4 separate regions of the Homo sapiens genome follow, and regions 1, 3 and 4 are each linked to region 2. Evidence: promoter capture Hi-C in 16 types of primary human blood cells and fetal thymus (Javierre and others, 2016). All regions are on one chromosome and are shown on one strand. Each heading gives the region's core, a stretch centred on a gene start or on the middle of the fragment in contact. The rest is flanking DNA. Distances are from core to core; before and after follow the strand shown.

Region 1 (2,700 bases), core at 28-2,527, 1.1 Mb after region 2:
CACACATCTATACTGTACATGTGTATATACATAAATGCATACACACATCTATACTGTACATGTGTATATACATAAATGCATACACACATGTATTCCTTCTATGGTTAGAGCCCAGTCCATTCTTGTTATATGTACAGGACAATAATTGTTATTCATGATTCAGAATCACTAGAAAAAAACTAACAAATTCAGTATACTTCGTTTTTAAAAAGGTAATCATCATACACAAAATTTTACATCTTGAAGGTAAAGAAAAGATAAAGCACCTGTCAAACTTGTGAACTGGAAGGTTTCCTACAGAATATAAGGATGACTTTTCCTTTTGGAAAAAGATAATGTTTTGTCTAACTAGCTTTTTTTGCTTTTAATTTAAAGTGTAGCAGAAATCAGCAATAACTCTGCATTGTTCCGCAAGGCTTAGTTTTGATTGAACCTCTTTCTGAAATAAGTTAGTGCAATTGGACCTTAAGTATTAAACCCCTATTCCTCTAACTGAACCCTCAGGAAAAAAAGAGATGTTAAAACTCCCTTTTGATATAGCAACCTTGAAGAAGATGATCAAGACTAGGGGGGCAAAAGGGAGGAATGACACTATAAAAGGTCTGAGCCTTAACAAAGTGGTGCTATAGTTGTTAGTGGTAGAGCCATCTGGCTGAGATCCAAAGCTACTGCTTCAACATCTTGAGACAGGGATGGTACAATGGATGAAAAATCACTACTTGATGTCACGTCCTTCTTAGATCATGCCAGCTAAATAAAATCTGACTTGCAGATAGGCTAGGTAAATTAGGGCCAAACACATTTTAGAAAGTAAGGTTTTACAAGCAGATGTAAAACATGATTTAGCATTTCAATTATTATTAATCCAAGTGTGTAAGATACTTCATTCCAAGTCAAGTTAGGTTAAACGATACGATGTTAAATCAGTTTGTATATTGTTTATGGCCTAAAATCACTGTAAAATGTAAGAAATAAGCAAGTAGGAGTAAGAGGATGAACTACCACAGACATTATGTTAATGTCTATAAAACAAGTATATTCAAGTTAAAATGTTCCTTTCCAAAACATAGTTTAACTTGTAAGTCTACTCTACATGAATATTCATTATTTCTAATTCTCAAATGATAAATAACTAGAACTAATTTGAGGCAACTTCTGAGTAATTTATGCCTTAGAGTGACACTTGTGAATAGCCCACTCTAGCAGCTGCATTTTGTAAATAAAAAGTTTCTTCATTACTTGATTTACACAAATCATGTTTCACCCGAAACCTCTACACCCCACACAAGCTACTAATCCCTGCCCGGGACGCAAGGTTTAGACGAAAATTTGATGTTAATAATTTTTCATAGTAATAGGCTCAATTACTTTCCCTCCATTTGTACTCAGATTGTCCCATTATCAGTATTTCTACTTGTAATACTTTCCATTACCTTCTGTAAGACAAAAAACTAGTTCATTTTATTATTACACATCTTAAGATTAATTTTTAGTAATACAAAGACTGTGAGGAAAGTTTCATTACAATTAAAATAGATATGTAAAGTTTCTCAGGTTAACAATATATTGAATATACTCACTTTTGTTGTTTTTGTATAGAATGGGGAGGAGAGTTGGTGAACGGGCAGGTCCACAATACTACTGGAGTTCGTGACACTGTTAGTATGTGTATGTTCATCTTCTCTGCTACTATCATCAGACTGATCAAAATCGTCACTCTCCTGGTCCATCTCCTCCTCCTCCTCATCCTCCTCATCTTGTTCACCAGCATGTTCTTCATCTTCCTCTTGTTCTTCTTGGTTTCCTGAGGAGTCCTCATCTACCGAAATAAATCTATTATTGTTTTCTTCCAACTGTCCTTGCTGGGAATCATTTTGGCCTCCAGGTCTAGGTTCTACTCCAACAACTTCACCATTCCTTGCAGTGTGCTCCTCCTCTTGTTGTCTGAGTTGCTGTTGCTGTTCCTCCTCTACCACACGATTCATCTGTTCTTCATCTACCTGGCTTGAGGAAGGGTTACCTCTCAGAGAGCCTCCAGTTCGTCGTCTTTTGCTGCCCACAGAGAGCAGTTCCTGATTCATTTCCAAAAGCCAGCTTGCTACTTCTTGGACCTTGGCTAGACTATCAGAAGATGCAAAGGTTTTCACATTCTGCAGGGGAAAATAGGGTAAAAAACAAGATTTGTACAATCTATATTATGTTCTACTTTCATGTTATATGTCTACTTTCTAAATATCATTAATGATTGCAAAAAAGTATTGATGCCACCAAGGCATTAAAATGTTCTTTAGTAAACAATATAGAACATTTCAATTTTAAAAGTTATAAGACTTTATAAAGACATGCACAAAAACCATAGTAAACAACACTAATCCCTTTTAATAATTTTTAGCATGAAGATTTATAGTTTAATTCCTTTGACCAATAAAACATAATATTTCAAGCAAATAAAACAATTTTAATTTTACATCAGTAGTTCATAGACTATATCCTATATAAAACTTCCACAAAATTTTAAGAAGTGTATCAAAAAAAATTTTCAGTGTTCAGTTAATTTGGGAAATGCTGAGGTAAATCAGATTAAAAGGCTTTTTACCCTGGGTATTTCCCAAACTTTTCTGATCACAGAATCTTGCCTTCAGACACAGTTTTCTAGCAGGTAACAATTATAATCATTATTATTTTAATTTTTTTACAAAT
Region 2 (2,700 bases), core at 135-2,634:
TTTCAAAGTGCTGGGATAATAGGCGTAAGCTACCACGCCCAGCCACTTCTATTATTATTATTATTATTATTATTTTTTTTTTTTTAGACGGAGTCTCGCTCTGTCGCCCAGGCTGGAGTGCAGTGGCGCCATCTTGGCTCACTGCAACCTCCGCCTCCCGGGTTCAAGCGATTCTCCTGCCTCAGCCTCCCGAGTAGCTGTGACTACAGGTGCACGCCACTACACCCAGCTAATTTTTGTATTTTTAGTAGAGACGGGATTTCACCATGTTGGCCAGGATGGTCTCAAACTCCTGACCTCAGGTGATCCACCCGCCTCGGCCTCCCAAAGTGCTGGGATTACAGGCATGAGCCACCGTGCCTGGCCTATTAGTTTTAAACTGCTTATATGTTTCTTTCAAGCATCCCAATATTTTAAGTTGCAAGAGAGCAGTAACATTTTAATAGTTCATTGAATTCTGCCTCCACAGACCTAGCACCCTACAAACAATTGGCACAGAAAACAAAAGGCAGAGTGAAGATTTCTGAGGTAGATGTTGTGGTGTACCATCCAGACCCCCCTTTAGAACTGAAGCATTCATTCCCTTAGCAGCTAGGAGTGTTGGCTGCTGACAGTTCACAGCTAAGTCTTATTCCAAGAACTGCCAACAGAGCCACCTCACCCAAGGTAATGCCCCCTCCTAGGAGGTGGCCTGCATCCAATGATGCAGACCCCTAAGAACGCATCCTTCTTAGCTCAGTACAGAAAGTCTCTGAGGGCCACCTCAGCTCCAGAGAAACTTGTGAGATAGGCTGTGGCCTCTGTTGCAAACGCATCACAGTTCAACTCTCCCTCTAACCAATCCTACTACCCACCCAAGAGCTGCTGATCCTGAGACCACTCTAAAATAAATTTCCTGCACACAAATCTCTGTCTTAGAGTCTGTTTCCCAGGAAACTTGACTTGCAGTGCAGCTAACACTGTAACAGAAATGAAAACAAACAAACAAAAAAACTCAGAAAAATTAACCAGATACTGGGTTCATTTCCTCTTTTCCATTTCTTGCTTTTGGAGAATCCTGTCCACCTTCTATCTCCTTGCTAGAGACAGGGTCCTGTTTCTTCCAGTGCCCTCAACCAGCCACTCCTCAACACCACAGGCAGAAACCCCAGAAACCCTGCTCTCCCAGGACAGCAGGGGGCGCCACAGACCCCAGTTCCTCCCCTGGGTCCTGCAGCTGCACTTCTGAAGTCTGGTCCCTTCAGGATCTGGCAGCGGGTGAAGACCAAAGGAGAGGAGGGGGTGAAGCAGAGGAATCCATCTAGGAGAAGCTAGTTCTGGCAGCTCCCCATTGGCCTCTTCCTGGGAGCCTGAGTCCAGGAAGCAGGAAGCGCTCACTGGCTCTGAGGACAGAGACATGGGCCCTGCTGGCTGTGCCTTCACGCTGCTCCTTCTGCTGGGGATCTCAGGTGAGCGCCAGGGTGGGGTTGAGAAGGCAGAGGCAGAGGATTTTTACTAAAGAGGGCATCACATAGAACAATGTGACACTTCACCCATGGGATGTTAGTTATGAGTAGCACAGCCTGAGAAGGTCCTGAGAGGCTACTATATACCCAGCACCATTCCAATGCTCCCGATTGGAAATAGCAGTACACACACACACCCACAAGATCCCTATCTTCGTGGGACTTATAATCAATGCACATATTAAATGTGTAAATTATAAGGCTTGTTAGAAGGTAATAAGTACTATGAAAGGAAAGGGGCATCTGAAGTACAGGGGCAGGAGTGTTGCAATCTTTAGAAGGGTAGTTAAAGAAGGCCTCACTAAGAAGGAGTCATTTGAGCAGAACTGAAGGGGATAACTAAATTAAGTAAGAGGATCCAGGAAAAGAGCATCTCAAGCAGAGGGAACTGGAAGAGCAAACACTATTCTATGATTTCAGGTATATGCTTGTTCATTTATTTTTCTGGTCCACAGGGATTTAAAGGAAGGGTATACTGGCCAGGCACAGCAGCTCACGCCTGTAATCCCAGCACTTTGGGATGCCAAGGCGGGCAGATCACCTGAGATCAGGAGTTCAAGACCAGCCTGGGCAACATGGTGAAACCCCATCTCTACAAAAAATACAAAAATTAGCCGGGCGTGGTGGCGGGCACCTGTAGTCCCAGCTACTCAATAGACTGAGGCAGGAGAAGTGCTTGAGCCTGGAAAGTGGAGGTTGCAGTAAGCCGAGATAGCGCCACTGCACTCCAGCCTTAGCGACAGAGTAAGACCCCGTCCCCCCAAAAAACAGAAAGGGTATGCTGAGAGAGCAAAAAACTTAACAGGTAGCAAAGAAGAAAGATACACAAATACTGCAAAATGCCAATTCAGTTAAACCAAATAGCACAAAAGTAAACAGCTTGCAACCTCAACCGCATCTGAGGGCATCATTGTATTTATAAACTAACATACTTCATATTCCTGATGGTGACCTTGAATCAAGTAAAAGCTAAATTTGAATCTTCATAGAGCATTTTTTTTTTAAGAGACAGAGTCTCACTCTGTCACCCAGGTTAGAGTGCAGTGGTGCAATCATAGCCCACTGCAACCTCAGACTCCTGGGTTCAAGCAATCCTCCCACTCAGCCTCCCTAGTAGCTGGGACTACAGGTGTGGTTGAACCACACCTGTTGTGTTTGTGGCCCAAAAGAAGAAAAAAAAAACCCTGACTAGTAT
Region 3 (2,700 bases), core at 193-2,692, 1.1 Mb after region 2:
TCCATATTATACTATAATAATATGTGTGTGTGTTTATATATTTTTTTCCTCTCCTACCTACTGTAGTGGTCTAAACACTAGCATATAGAGTATATTTGACTTTTTTTTTTTAATGAGTAAACTTTGGATTTTATTTCTATTATTTGTGCCTAAGAACTTTAGTTGTTAAAATACTTTTCCTCATCCTTTCATTAAGCATTTTAAAAAGTACTTAAGATAAAACAAAAATCCAACTATCCCACTGAATTTTCTAAGTATTTCAGAAATGCCCAGTATGAAGTCTTCAATGACTTAACATAACCTGTCTCATGATTAAGCTTAACTCTTACAGGCTGAGCTGGGTTACCCCAGCTGTTAAAATGGCCTTACACAGCTGCTCACCAAGAATTTAGTTCGTGATTATTATAGTTACACCTTTAAGTCAACTATGACAAAAATGACACAGTAATTACAGGTATTTCAGTCATGCAAAAAGCCTCATGTAATGACAGAGTAAGTGATTTAAAGTAACCTAATTTTCCATAATTCTCAAAATAAAATTTAAGTCTAAGAAAGACAATAACTTCTTTAATGTCAGTACTTAAGTCCATAAACAGTTTAAACATAACAGTTTAAACTTTCAGTTAAAATAAATTAAACATTACTTACCAATAATATCTTTCTCTTATAAAAATTCTTAAGAGTATTGCAGGCCAGGGAGTCATAATACTAATTATACTAATAATTAGGACTAAGGAAATAATACTAATATTCTTTTAAAATACAGTAAGTAATTGTGTGTTTTTTTGCTACACAGCTTTAAAAAATTAAGCTATAATGCAGAAGGCTCAACCAAATTGACAGTTTGACAAATTATAAAAATTTATCTTATGAAAAATAAAAAGCTACACTTATGGAAACATAAAAAATCTGAAGGAGTGCTGGTGCTTTAAATAGGTAAAATAGGAGGGGGACATTATTTCCTATACTGTTGAGTTTCTGATGCAATTATAAATAAAAATCAATATATTTTGAGAAAGATAAACATAGTACCATACTTCATTTATATAATTTTCAGTAATGTGCTATGCAAGTATGTGAGATTTATTAATATTAACTGAAAGTACTTCAGCACAGAATTTAAGTATAGAATTAAAGTACAGAAAACAAGTATAAGATTAAGCAATAGAAAATACATATTTAGAACTTAATTCTTGGACGGGCTGACAGTTGATACCACTGGCCTTTTACGCTGTCAATATTACATACTCAAAAAAATAATTTTTCTGAAAAATATCAATGTTATTTTTTGTAGCTGAGGTTTAAATTAAGCTGAGAGCCTAAGTTTTCATTCTTTACAGTAAGTAAAACACTAACTGGCTATCAAGAAAAATTAGAAACAAAGAAATAAAATTCAATTCCTACTATTCTTTAGTATGCCTGTAATACAAAGATCTTGGGATAGAAAGATAAATAAGTCTAAGGAGACTATCAGAGATCAGTAAGAGATATAAAGGAAGTCTGCAGCTATAGGGCTTAGAAAATACGTACGCATTGTTTCAGACTGGAACAATGATAAGGGGAAGAGATTAAACACTGACAAGAGTTTCTACTAGATCATGCTTTGTATCACTTAATCACCACGCCGAAACCCTGAGGTATCATTATCCTTGTCTACTTGTTACAGACAAAACTAAGGCTCAGAAAGGCTTACAAATTTGCCCAAGGTAACACAGCTGCCAGGTAGTAGAGTTGAGATTTTAACCCTGGTATGTCTAATTCCTAAACCTGTGCTTTGTAACAGAACATCTATCCAATTCCACAGAATGTTACATCCTAACTTAGTTGTGTTACTTCCTAAATTAGTTGTTCGGAGACACTTCTTTGTCAGTGTTTCAGATATGTAAGTTTGTCAGATATAAATGAGTTCTAGATAACTGAAATAAAGTATTGTATAAGACATTTACATATTAAATATGGAATGTTTTAATGTGCCTGATTTTTATGAAGCCCAAATTTAAAAAAAGAAACAGGAATAACATCAAAGATATTATGAACTCTTATAGCAAATTGTATTCTCAAAGGTAGTCACAACGCTGTCCCCCATCTTGCATGCTCTTCTTGCAAGGTGACTCTGAGACTCCTTTCACTAAGAGGGAGAGGCCATGTCCTCTTGCCTTAATAACAGGCCAGACCTTTGTGACTGTTTGGACCATTAGAGATAGTAAAAATGGTATCATGTGACTTCACAGGCTGAGTCATAAAAAGGAGATTCAGCTTCCACCTTGCTTGCTGGAACACTCACTTGGTAGTCCTGATGTGCTGGCTAAGTAGTACCTTCAGGCCACCATGCTCTGAAGAAGCCCAAACTAGCCCAGGTAAAAAGACCGTATTATATAGAGATGTTAGGAGATGATACGGAAAAAGAATTTCTGGGTCAGCCCTCAGCTGTTCTAGACCCCCACTTTTGCACCTCCAGCCATGATCTGACTGCCACCCAGAGTTAACAATGGCCAGATCAGCCCTCCTCAAATTACAAACCTATAAGAACAATGAGAAATAATAAAATTCTCGTTTGTTATAATCCACAAAGCTTTGACGGTGATTGGTCAGGTGACAATGGATAACCGAGACATCTTATAAAACAAGGAGCTCTAAGTTGGTTTATAGTCATCCTAGTGGAGTGTTAATTTTACAATGTAACAGGAATGGAAAGGACAA
Region 4 (2,700 bases), core at 46-2,545, 1.1 Mb after region 2:
CATGAAGGCATTTGTGGATTCCTTAAGGGAAAGGTGTGCTGTCTTATTCATCTTTGTAACAGTAGCAACACACACAGAGAGTATGCATACTATATATCAGCAGATTAAAATTAATTTTGTGGTGTTAATTTCCCATGGAAATACTGGGACAATTAAAAAAAATGTGGTTGAGGTTCTCTACACTCATTTAAAGAATAAGTCTATTAGCATGAGCTGTATTTTAATCACTGAAGAAAAGTAATATAAAAGCTCCAAACTATCATTGTATTATATGGTTATAATAGCCTATAATTAGGTTAATAAACTTTAGGTACTCATCTATATATGTATGTTTTAAAGTATTTAATATGCATGTACTCAGAGACTTAAGATAAAGCTTAGACTACTCTGACATTTCAAAGTGTGTTCAGTTTTTTATGAGTGGGTGACAGTTGTAAAACTCTAAGGTCTCTGGATTTAGTTCCATGCTCTTGGAGACAGCTGTGTTCCTAAATTCAGAATATTTTGAATTGTAGAAAGGTAACAGAGTGCATATACTATTTATTACAGAGCACTTCCAGTATATCACACATTAGTGTTTCTCCAGCAAAATATATGAATATTCAGATAAATAATAAAGATGACTGTTTTATGTTAGTTTGGGTTAGGTTTTGCTACCTTTATTTTTAAATTTTCAGTTTTCAGAGCATGATGGATTTCTGCTTTGCAGACAAGGGACTGTGGACTTATTTCACACTTGTTTACCTTGCCAGGAGCTTAGTTCCAAGTTTATTTTTAGCATATTTTTCATCTGTCTTCTATATTACAAGCCTCAACATTAAGTTAGTTTCTGTAAAACCTAACTTAGTTTATATTTACAAATTTAAATAGCCTTGCCCTTTGATGTCAAAATTATACAAATTGTTACCTAATTAAAAATTTGTTACATAAAAGACAAAATCATACAAGTTGTTTCCATAGTGTAGTTACAGATTTATAAATCATGTGCTAAGTCGCTTTGTACTCCTATCTGACAACTAGGGCACAACCCAATACTAAAACATCATCTGATGACAAAAACATACAGAAGGCAGTATTATCAGTAATTAGATATTGAGACCATCATAAATTGTTGGGAAAGGTGAGAATTACACATTTAAAATTCCAAGATTATATGGCAAAAGTTAACCCTTAAAACATTTGGACACTAAGGGTCTGTTCAACAAATGCCTACTCCAGATCCGTTTCCTGCAGTGGCTGTGATGCTGGAATAAGACTGCTTGAGTTAGTGTCCTAGCTACATTACTTACTAGCTAAGGGGCAAGAACCTTCCTATGCCTGAGATTCCTCACGTGTAAAACAGGTAAAATACAATACAACGTACTTCACAAGGTGATTTTAAGGATTAAATGAGTTTATGTATAGAAAGTAACTAGAGTAGTGCCTCTTCTACATCCCAAATCATACCTTATTCTATTACCCTATTTTACTGTCATCAAAATATTAACAGTAGTATTTATTTTCTGTCTCCCCAAACTACAATCTAAGCTCCATGAGGGCATGGCCTTTGTCTATCAAGTTCACTGTTATATCTACAGTTTCTAGGAAAGTTCTCTACTCTAGGTGCTCAATACGTATTTTTTCAACATTAATAAATTGACGGCAAGATGTAATTTGCAGCAGTATACTTAATATGAAAAAACATAAGACAAGACACGATCCCAAGCAATGATACAAGTTCCCTCTATCACTCCTCTGATCACCTACTTAGCAAACATCTTCATGTTTTAATTCAGGGTTACTGTGAAGCCCTTCCTGAACCACTCATATTGAGCTCTGAGTGCCTCCTCATACTCTGACAGTACTTTGTACGTAGGTCCATTTAAGCAGTTATTATTTTGTACTATAATGGTTTGTTTGTAGTTTTATCACTGTGACTTTTCATTTGTGCATGGGCATGGGGGATCATCATCTTATTTATAGCCGGTGGCTTGCACAGCACAGAGAATGCAAAGAAAACCGACAATTACATTGCTTACTCATGTTGATGCATGATGTGTGAAACATTCTTAAAGAGAAAAAGACCAAAGGATCTAAAATAGAATGGTCTGATATGTGATAACTGACAGTAATTAATGCCTTTATTGATAAAGTAAGTAGTGACCATAAAAAACACCAAAGGATCTGGAAATGTTTATATTTTCCAAGTACCAATGGAAGATATATGCAAGTAAGAGAAGCTTAGAAAGCCACATTTTAGTTTCCTCACTCAAAAACAAACAAACAAAAACAAAACAAACCAAAAAAACCCCACCACAAAACAGGTACCCTATTAAATTCCCTCTCTAAATTTGCTCATACCACCACCCTATTCTTTCTTCTCTTCAAAGTACTGTATTTTTTTTCTCTATTTCAGCATTTTCTGATATTTAGGAGCTACTCTAGACTCCCAAAAGTACCACCTAAATGACTATACCATGTGTGTTTCTTTTTCATTTTCAAAATTAGTACATAGTAATTACTTTTAAAATTAAGTGTCAAACTGTATCTGAGTTTCGTTAAATTTAGAAAATGAAATATTCAAAATCACAGCTGCACAGTCACTTAAAAACATTTAGTAAACAAAAACAAGCCACATTCTTACAGCACAAAAATTCCTTAAGGATTTTTCCAAGTTTAACAGACACTTCAATGAATCAGCCATAGAAATATTTATACTAA

Evidence for each region. Contacts are between HindIII fragments. The CHiCAGO score rates a contact against its expected background, and 5 or more counts as called.
Region 1: a fragment that was not itself captured here is called in contact with the fragment with the promoter of PRSS48 in region 2 in 1 of 17 cell types (fetal thymus); the score reaches 5.0 in fetal thymus.
Region 3: a contact is called between a fragment that was not itself captured here and the fragment with the promoter of PRSS48 in region 2, in 1 of 17 cell types (fetal thymus). The highest score is 9.3, in fetal thymus.
Region 4: a fragment that was not itself captured here is called in contact with the fragment with the promoter of PRSS48 in region 2 in 1 of 17 cell types (fetal thymus); the score reaches 7.0 in fetal thymus.

What each region holds. Positions count from the first base shown.
Region 1 is chr4:152,409,723-152,412,422 of GRCh38, forward strand. It overlaps FBXW7 (F-box and WD repeat domain containing 7), which reads right to left. Exons shown (of 14, transcript NM_001349798.2): 4 at 1,581-2,150. The coding sequence starts at 2,081. Among named protein-coding and RNA genes, the nearest start is that of FBXW7-AS1, 73 kb to the left of the region's middle. The HindIII fragment of the contact is 8,756 bases long and covers 1-2,700 here.
Region 2 is chr4:151,275,777-151,278,476 of GRCh38, forward strand. It overlaps PRSS48 (serine protease 48), which reads left to right and starts at 1,385. Exons shown (of 5, transcript NM_183375.5): 1 at 1,385-1,448. The coding sequence starts at 1,397. The region is part of intron 1 of SH3D19 (SH3 domain containing 19); the gene reads right to left. The HindIII fragment of the contact is 6,829 bases long and covers 1-2,700 here.
Region 3 is chr4:152,390,075-152,392,774 of GRCh38, forward strand. All of the region lies in intron 4 of FBXW7 (F-box and WD repeat domain containing 7), which reads right to left. Among named protein-coding and RNA genes, the nearest start is that of FBXW7-AS1, 54 kb to the left of the region's middle. The HindIII fragment of the contact is 2,255 bases long and covers 316-2,570 here.
Region 4 is chr4:152,371,888-152,374,587 of GRCh38, forward strand. All of the region lies in intron 4 of FBXW7 (F-box and WD repeat domain containing 7), which reads right to left. Among named protein-coding and RNA genes, the nearest start is that of FBXW7-AS1, 36 kb to the left of the region's middle. The HindIII fragment of the contact is 1,843 bases long and covers 375-2,217 here.